2 separate regions of the Homo sapiens genome follow, and region 1 is linked to region 2. The links are contacts of gene promoters, found by promoter capture Hi-C in human tissues and cell types (Jung and others, 2019). All regions are on one chromosome and are shown on one strand. Each heading gives the region's core, a stretch centred on a gene start or on the middle of the fragment in contact. The rest is flanking DNA. Distances are from core to core; before and after follow the strand shown.

Evidence for each region. The method cuts DNA at HindIII sites, captures the fragments that hold promoters and counts their contacts. A contact is called where the count stands out against the background at its distance.
Region 1: a fragment that was not itself captured here is called in contact with the fragment with the promoter of HPX in region 2 in 1 of the 25 tissues and cell types used here (heart left ventricle).

What each region holds. Positions count from the first base shown.
Region 1 is chr11:6,704,383-6,708,855 of GRCh38, reverse strand. It overlaps LOC124902625 (a long non-coding RNA gene), which reads right to left. Exons shown (of 4, transcript XR_007062574.1): 4 at 4,385-4,424. Among named protein-coding and RNA genes, the nearest start is that of MRPL17, 23 kb to the right of the region's middle. The HindIII fragment of the contact is 5,616 bases long and covers 1-4,419 here.
Region 2 is chr11:6,437,676-6,442,359 of GRCh38, reverse strand. It overlaps HPX (hemopexin), which reads left to right and starts at 1,373. Exons shown (of 10, transcript NM_000613.3): 1 at 1,373-1,479; 2 at 1,630-1,688; 3 at 1,822-1,893; 4 at 2,074-2,195; 5 at 3,851-4,004. The coding sequence starts at 1,397. The HindIII fragment of the contact is 2,516 bases long and covers 1-1,609 here.

The sequences.
Region 1 (4,473 bases), core at 362-2,861, 270 kb before region 2:
ACAGTGAAGCCCCATCTCTACTGAAAATACAAAAATTAGCCGGGTGTTGTGGCGGGCGCCTGTAATCCCAGCTACTCAGGAGGCTGAGACAGGAGAATCACTTGAACCTGGGAGGCAGAGGTTGCAGTGAGCTGAGATAGCTCTACTGCACTCCAGCTTGGGCGGCACATGGAGACTGTCTCAAAAACATAAAAAAATAAAAAGAAAAAAGAAGGAAAGTAGAATGTTTGTTACCAGAAGCTGGGATGGTGGGTGGGGGAAAGCAGAAGTGTAGGTCAAAGGGTACAAAGAGAGAGAGGAAGCAAGAAGAAGGTAATTCAAGATGAAGAAGCAGGTATAAGCCAAGTGTTGAGAGTTAGAAAATGCCAGCCTGTGAAAGCCAGGCTGTTAGTTGTGCGAAGGGCCTCCACTATTTACTACATGTATGACCTTGGATGAGTTAGTTAACCTGTCTCTGCTTCATTTCCTTCATACATAAAATGGTGCAACCTCAGTGAAGTGTTAAGAATAACGTGAAACAATACATATGCCTGAAACATGGTACACGTGCCAATAATGTTAGGTAGTAGCAATGCCAACAACAGCAGAAGCAGCAATAACCGCAGCAAAAGTCACGTTAATAGAAGTAATTATAGCATTTATTAACATTATTATTGCTATTATACTGAAATGTAGTTGTGGCTACACTCCATCTTAATTGTTAAGGTCCTGAAGAAGAGGGTCCAAGTTCTTTTTTTTTTTTTTTTTTTTTGAGATACAGTCTTGCTCTGTCGCCCAGGCTGGAGTGCAGTGGTGCAATCTCGGCTCACTGCAACCTCTCAGGCTCAAGCGATTCTCCTGCCTCAGCCTCCCGAGTGGCTGGGATTACAGGCACCTGCCACCACTCCCAGATAATTTTTATACTTTTTAGTAGAGAGGAGGTTTTGCCATGTTGGCCAGGCTGGTCTCAAACTCCTGACCTCAGGCGATCTGCCTGCCTCAGCCTCCCAAAGTGCTGGGATTACAGGTGTGAGCCACCACGCTGGGCCAGTCCAAGTTCTTTATTTTGACTGAAACAGTGTTTATAAATGTGCTTTCCTTATTGTTTCCTGTATCTATAGTTTATTTTCTCTGAATAGGATTTTTAAAATACAATAGAATTAAAATGTAAACCTCAAAAAAGGGGTGAGGAATGGAGGGAAGATATGTGAGTAGGCCAGGACAGAATGAGAGCGTCGTTGTGGGTTCCTGAGGCAACAGTTATCCAATGTCATTGTTATTTTTAATGAAATTCAAGGAATTTGCATTTATTCCAAATTGGAAAAGATGTGAACCAGGAACAACCTGCCTGACAGTTTATGTATCTTTGGCGATTTTCCTTTGAACCATGGGAAAAATCATGTTTATCTTGTAGTTTACATTGTAATTCTCATCCACTCCTCTGTGAAGACGTGGAACTGTGCCACCCAGAACCTCCTGCAAGAGAAGACTTGCTGCCCAACTGAGGGGAATGAAGTAAGCAGCCAGGCTTCAGCTGTCAGATCTTCCCAATCTGCCTCAATTGCAGGGAGCCCCTTCACCTGAGGTAATGCCCTTCCTGGGGTAGCCTGTATCCAGAGGCTGAGACAGAAAAGAAAGACCCAGCCATTGTAGCCTGACACAGGATGCTTTGTTGGTCTTCACTCTACAGAGCTCTCCACCAGGTTCAGGGAAGGTTTGTAAGGCCTGCATCACGGCTCAATGTCTTTCTCTGCCAAATCCTACTTTTGCCCCTTTTCTTCACAGGCGTTGATCCCTAATAAACATCTTGCCCTCCACACTGTTCTACCGTCTGCTCTTGGGGAAATCAACCTGCAACCTACTTCAAGGCATTGGTAGATATTGCTATGTCAAGATAGATTTGGACAATGGGGTGATGGATACTAAAGAGGTAGTGCAAAAAGAAAATGAGGGGCATACAACATTCTCCTCTTCCCAACACCTGTATGAAGAAAGCAGCATCCTTTTGAGGAGTGAGAGAATACAGATCTTTCAGAAGTGAGCAGCAGGCAGGAAAGTGGCCTACAGCCCTGTTGAGAGCAGCAGAGAGGAGCATGAGACATAGCTGCCAGATGGGAAATTCATTAGTAAGTGATCATTAGAAAACAGGAAACTGGTGGATGAAAATAAAAGAAGTAAAACTGATAAGCAAGTAAGAACAGATATTTCTTCTACGTGGCTTTCGAATTGGGGGTAGGAGGGGTGGAGTCAAGGAATGAAGCCTAGGCCTTGCAAATGCATCCCTTAGGAAAAGTGAAATGGAAGTAACGGTTACATCAAGCCAAAACAAGGAGCTTTGACTTGGTCCCACATGCTGCGATCTAGAATTGTTCCTGGCACAGCTAAAGCTTTATCATCCTATGTAATGGGGAGGCACCTATGGATGCAAGTAGAGATTACCCCCTTATATCAACCACATTAAATCCATAAAGTTTCCCCAAAGCCTTTCCTGCCTCAGCATCTAACTTCCTTCTTCTGAGTCTCTGGAGTCCCAGCGCGGCAGGAAAATGGAAATCATAATATAGCGTTCATAGATACAGAATGGCAGCGTCAGGAGCAACTACAGTTCTTAGTAAGAGCATCACAGACCCTCTCAGCCATGAATTAACTTGCTCTTTTTCTACCTCCCTTTGTAACTATAGCTACCCTTCTTAGGGCCTCCCATCTTTTTTCTGAGGCCCTAGTTTGGTTTCTGGCTGAAACTACATGGGAGTTGCAGGCACTTCTCTCACCACCAGATGGTGATAAAGAGCCTATCAGGATAATGAATTCTGAGATTTCCCAACTCCGGCATAGTTAACATTTAGAGCCAGATAATTTATTGTGGGAAACTCTCTGTGCGTTATAAGATGTCTAGTAGCACCTCTGGCCTCTATCCATTAAATGTGAGTAGCACTATTCACAGTTATGGCAACAAAAATGTCTCTAGACATTGTCAAATGTCCCTGAAACATTTGCATTGCCCCGGTGGAGAACCACTGTGAAATGAGGTGTTCAAGAGTTTTAAATAGGAGAAAGAAAATGAATGCAATTTTGATGAAATTTTTGAAAAGCTTTCTTATTTTTTACAATATTACATTTATTGAAAAAATTCAAAAATGTGGAAAAACATAAGAAAATCAGACACCCAAAATCCTGTCATCCAGATTAACTTTGGTGAACATTTTTATACTCATCCTTCTAGGCATATGGACACATAGTGGAAAACATACAATTTTGCATACATGGCAATGTATAATATATATACTCCAAAATTTCACTCATAAATGGCACTGCAGTTAACATACATCTTTGAACATAATTTTTTTTTTTGAGATGGAGTCTCACTCTGTCACACAGGCTGGAGTGCAGTGGCGCAATCTCGGCTCACTGCAACCTCTGCCTCCTGGGTTCAGGCGATTCTCCTGCCTCAGCCTCCCAAGTAGCTGGGATTACAGGTCCATGCCACTATGCCCAGCTAATTTTTGTATTTTTACTAGAGACGGGGTTTTGCCATGTTGGCCAGGCTGGTCTCGAACTCCTGACCTCAGGTGATCTGCCCACCTCAGCCTCCCAAAGTGCTGGGATTACAGGCATGAGCCACCATGCCCAGCCTGAACATACATCTTTGCACAGGTTGAGTGTGACAGTTTTTCACTCCACATTTCCTATATATCTACAATTTTGCCACGACAGGACCCAGAGCTTTACAAAGTAATTTGGACATAGATATTCTTCCAAAGATGTACAAAAACTGCTGGAAAGAATGTGAACATTCCCAGTGCAGTGGCTCATGCTGTCTCTACTAAAAATACAAAAATTAGCCAGGCATGGTGGCGGGTGCCTGTAATCCCAGCTACTCAGGAGGCTGAGGCAGGAGAATCACTTGAACCGGGAGGTGCAGGTTGCAGTGAGCTGAGATCGCACCACTGCACTCCAGCCTGGGCAACAGAGCAAGACTCCATCTCAAAAAAAAATTGTGAATAGAAGATAGAATAAATATAATTCGTGACATGGAAATGCAAGGTGGAAATTTTGGCAAAAATTGAGAGATAACTGATTAGATGTCAGGGATATCTTCACAGACATGGGCCTAGATATAAGCAGTATAAATGTTAGTCTCAGCCAGTTGTCGTGGCTCACACCTGCAATCCCAGCACTTTGGGAGGTCAAGGCAGGTGGCTCACTTGAGGTCAGGAGTTCAAGACAACCCTGGCCAACATGGTGAAACCCCATCTAGAAAAAAAAAGAAAAAAGTATCAGCTCCTTTTTCTTCAACTACAGTACTTCGAAAATTATTTGTTTAAATATTTCCGCTGGACACAGTGGCTCTCACCTGTAATTCCAGTGCTTTGGAAGGCTGAGACAGGAGGATCACTTGAGGCCAGGAATTTGAGACTAGCCTGGGCAACATAGCAAGACTCCATCTGTACAAAAAAAAGATTAAATAAAGAAAAAAATGCATATTCCCCCTAC
Region 2 (4,684 bases), core at 124-2,623:
TCTTTTCTGACTCACTAGGCAAATCTCACACAGAAATGGGGCAGCTTTGGGAGTGGGCCCAGGAAGTACTGAGGATAGCAGGTGAGATCCCAGGAAGAGATGGATGTGGGGCCGAGACACTGGAGAGAGAAACAGGACTGTCAGATAAAGGGCGTCTGTGACTCCTAGATCTCATTATGCCTACTACCATAACCTACCCCCAATTCCTAATATTCTCCTACCCTAGAGGGGGGGAAATTGTCAGAAATTTGGCTGCAACACTAGCAACACTACTCAGTACTTGAAATGCATTTTTGCATTTTTTTCATTCAACAAATATTTCTGGAACAACTCTTATATGCCAGGCACTATTTTAGGAGTCAGGGATATATAATGGTAAACAAGACAGGCAAAACAAAGCAAAGCAACAACAACCATCACCAGATAAGTAGACAGATGAAAGAATTTCAAGTTTTAGTAAGTAAAATAAAACAAGCAAGGGTCTGAAATGGCTAGATAAGGTGGTCAAGAAAGGCTTCATTGAGAAGGTAGCATTTAAGCAGGAGTCAGCTAGAAATATTGTGAAATTCCAGTTACAGTTCTATTTGTTCTGGGTTGGTTAAATAAAGCTTTTTCCCCCAAGGTGGAAACTACCAAGAAAGACTAATTACTAGTAGTGGTGGTGCTCTCTGGAAGAGAGACACCTCCTGTTTCTGCCTCATTACTGTCAACCCTTCACTTCCAGGCACTTTTTGCAAAGCCCTTTGCCAGTCAGGGAAGGCGAGAGGCTGGGCATGGGGCTTGGACATTTGACAACAGTGAGACATTATTGTCCCCAGACTCACTAGCCCAAGGGTAAAGCTGAAGAGGCTTGGGCATGCCCCAGAAAGGCCCCTGATGAAGCTTGGAAAAAGCTGTTCTCTGAGTATTTCTAAGTAAGTTTATCTGTGTGTGTGGTTACTAAAAGTAGTAAGTATTGCTGTCTCTAGCTGCCTTAGAGCAGGGCTTGACACAGTACACAGCAATATTAGTTCCCTCCTTTTCTCACCTCCCCCATTGTGGAGATAAACTCAATCACAAAAGGTGATCCTCAGTCTACTCACTTCCCTGACTTATGGATGCCTGGACCCATTGCCAGTGTGAGAGTCACAGCTGGACGTCAGCAGTGTAGCCCAGTTACTGCTTGAAAATTGCTGAAGGGGGTTGGGGGGCAGCTGCCGGGAAAAAGGAGTCTTGGATTCAGATTTCTGTCCAGACCCTGACCTTATTTGCAGTGATGTAATCAGCCAATATTGGCTTAGTCCTGGGAGACAGCACATTCCCAGTAGAGTTGGAGGTGGGGGTGGTGCTGCTGCCAACTCTATATAGGGAGTTCAACTGGTCACCCAGAGCTGTCCTGTGGCCTCTGCAGCTCAGCATGGCTAGGGTACTGGGAGCACCCGTTGCACTGGGGTTGTGGAGCCTATGCTGGTCTCTGGCCATTGCCACCCCTCTTCCTCCGTGAGTAAAGCTGGGACTAGAAGCGAAGGATTGAGTTCTGGGCTAGGGTAAGGTAGGGCCAGTTTTTAGGCCTCGGTCAAATTTGGGGTCAGGGGCTATGGGAAAGGGATCGGTCCCAATGGATCAAGATATCTATTTTGTTCTCCCTAGGACTAGTGCCCATGGGAATGTTGCTGAAGGCGAGACCAAGCCAGACCCAGACGTGACTGGTGAGGCCCTGACTCCCTAAGTCTGTCTTATCTGTCTGGTTGTGTCTCTGCATTTTATCACCTTCTGGTTTTTTTTTTTTTTTTTTTTTTTTTTTTTTTTTTTTACTTTGCCATCTCCCTACCTCCACCCCAGAACGCTGCTCAGATGGCTGGAGCTTTGATGCTACCACCCTGGATGACAATGGAACCATGCTGTTTTTTAAAGGTAGGAGGGACTGAGGTTAGGGCGTTTAGGACCTTAGACTTACTCTCCTTCACAAAGGGTGTCCCTGTCTGTGGGAGGTCTTAGGAATTATCTGATGGTATCACTGACAGCTTCTCTCAAGCTATCTCAGTAGGTCAAAGGTTTCTCACTGGGCCCCTCAGTGAGTGTGGGTTTTTTCAGGGGAGTTTGTGTGGAAGAGTCACAAATGGGACCGGGAGTTAATCTCAGAGAGATGGAAGAATTTCCCCAGCCCTGTGGATGCTGCATTCCGTCAAGGTCACAACAGTGTCTTTCTGATCAAGGTACTGCTGGGCCAAAATCAGGGCCAGGCTGGAAAGGGCTGGAATCGACACTGGGGACCCTTCCCCCAAATGGCCTTGGCATGGAGCCCATAGCAATAGGTAGCAGATTTCTTTCCCATGTGCCCTCCTTTCCTGTAAAAGCTTGGGCTAAGGGAGTGTGCATGCGTGTGGGCCTGGCAGGTGCACCATCCAGTGGCTGTTCTTCAGTCCTAGTCTTAGTTCTACACCGCTCTGCTGTACCTCACACTGCTGGCCATCCTTTTTTTCTCTGGCAATTGCTTCCCTTGCCTTCCATGACCCTGTATCAAGTCCTCTTCATAGGGCAAGGCAAGTTGTTCCCAACACAATGGCACCTGGCTAGAAGAGCATGTGGAGCATGAAATCCAGTCTGCTGTGCTCACCAAGTCCCATGTGACCCAGGCTGTGTCTGCTCAGAGGAAGGGGTGCCTTTTCCTACCTTGCCAAAGGTGCTGTGTGGTTGGGGAAGTCCTGACTGTCGGCTTTGTTTTCCCTCCTGCCTCTTTTCTCTCTCTTCTCAAATGTCTCATTCTATCTCAACCAGTTCCCTAATGTTCCTTGGGGATCCATCCTAGCCTTTCCATATACCTTCCCTCAGTGATCTCAACCATCACCTTGGCTCTGAGGAATATCTATGCTGTGGACACTGGATCTAGATCTACTTTCTGAGCTCCAGACATCTCTTTCCAATTGTATGTTCTACAGGCACCTAAAATTCAGCATCCCCCAAACTAAGCTTTGCATCTTCTTTACAAACCAACCTTTCCTCCTGTGTTTCCTGTTTCAGTAAATGACCCCAAAATGTGCCTGATTACTACAAACCAAGTGCACACAGGGTCTCATGATCTGGGCCTTGGTTATCTTCTCAGGTTTATCTCCTCCCCTGCCACATTCACTGTGTGCCAGCCATACGAATCTACATGAGGTTGGAGCACACTGCTTCCTCATGTTTGGGCTCTGCATGCTGCTCCCTCTGCTGGTAACACCCTTTCCTCACTTGTCAACCTGGAAAATTCCTGCTGATTTTTCAGCTCTTGGGCCCAATGCTTCCTCTTTGGTGTGAAACCTTCCACAACTTCTCTAGGCAGACTTAGGCACTCTGTCTATATTCTCAGTGCACTCTTTACACTACACCTTGGTAGTTGCATGGCTAGGATTGCAGGAGTCCTTTCTGCTTTTGTACAGTGAACTTCCTGAAGTGAAAGACAGAGTCTTGTTATCCTCAGTGCCTCTCACAATGCCTGGCATATAGTAGTTATTCAGTGACTGTTTCTTGGATGAATGAATGAATGAATAAATAAATGAAGAAATGAATGAAGAAATAACGTATGGGTGATTGCAGGATGAACAGTTGTGGATATGTTTGTCAACACTGATAGTGTTGCAGATAAATGTGCCACAGGAGTGTCTGGGTACAGAGCTAGAGGCATGTGTGTTATAGTAATAGTGACTGGATTTGCACAAACTGAGAGTGTGTAATGTGCAAAAGGACAGCACATTGTTGTCCACAGATGGACTGAGAATGTGTAGGGCCACAGGAGGATATCGTATAAGCACAGTAGATAAAAAATGTGTGTAAATGCAGAGTGGCAGTATCTGGGGATGCACAGTCAAAAAGAGAGTACTTTTGAATGCAGGGGGACAAAGTCTGGGTATACCCTCCTGAAAAGAAGGAGAAAGGATACCCAAAGTTGCTCCAAGATGAATTTCCTGGAATCCCATCCCCACTGGATGCAGCTGTGGAATGTCACCGTGGAGAATGTCAAGCTGAAGGCGTCCTCTTCTTCCAAGGTCAGTCCAGGCTGGAATCCAAGAACCTGGAGTAGTGGTGGGTTGGTAGTGATGCCAGTAGTGATGGTGATAGTGGTAGTGATGGTGGTGGTGGAGCCACTATGTGGCTTTTTAAGGAAGGGAAATAGAGAAGCCACGTATGGTCTAGAGGTCACGTGAGGGAAGGAGAGGAAGTCATTCTGGTGAAGGCAACTGTGTGTAATTCTGTGTGAATAGTCCCTCATTGTTCCCCATGACCCTTAGGACAAATCTACCCTCTTTAGTCTTACATACAAGTCTCTCCATGGCCAAATCCCTATTGGCCCTTCAGCTTTGACTTTTATTATACTTTTACCTTAACACTAAGCTCCAGAAACCCTATGCTATTCTCTGTACACTCAGTTTGCTCCATGCTTTGGAATCTTTCCTCTCTCTGGGGTTCCATCTCTCCTTGTGTGCCTTTTAATTCCTACTTCAGATTTCACTTTAAGTATCATCTTCCCTGGGAAGTTTTCCCAGACTCTCCCCACTGCCTTTGCTGAGCTGATCCTGTGTGTTTTGCTGCTGAATTTTGGTGTATGATCACCCTCCTTTAGCCATCTCTCTGATGGCTGTGAGCTCCATGTGGTCAGTACCATTATCTGGCCCATCCTGGGACCCAGAGAAAGCACAAAGGAGGGCGTAACCCGGTCTCACCAAAT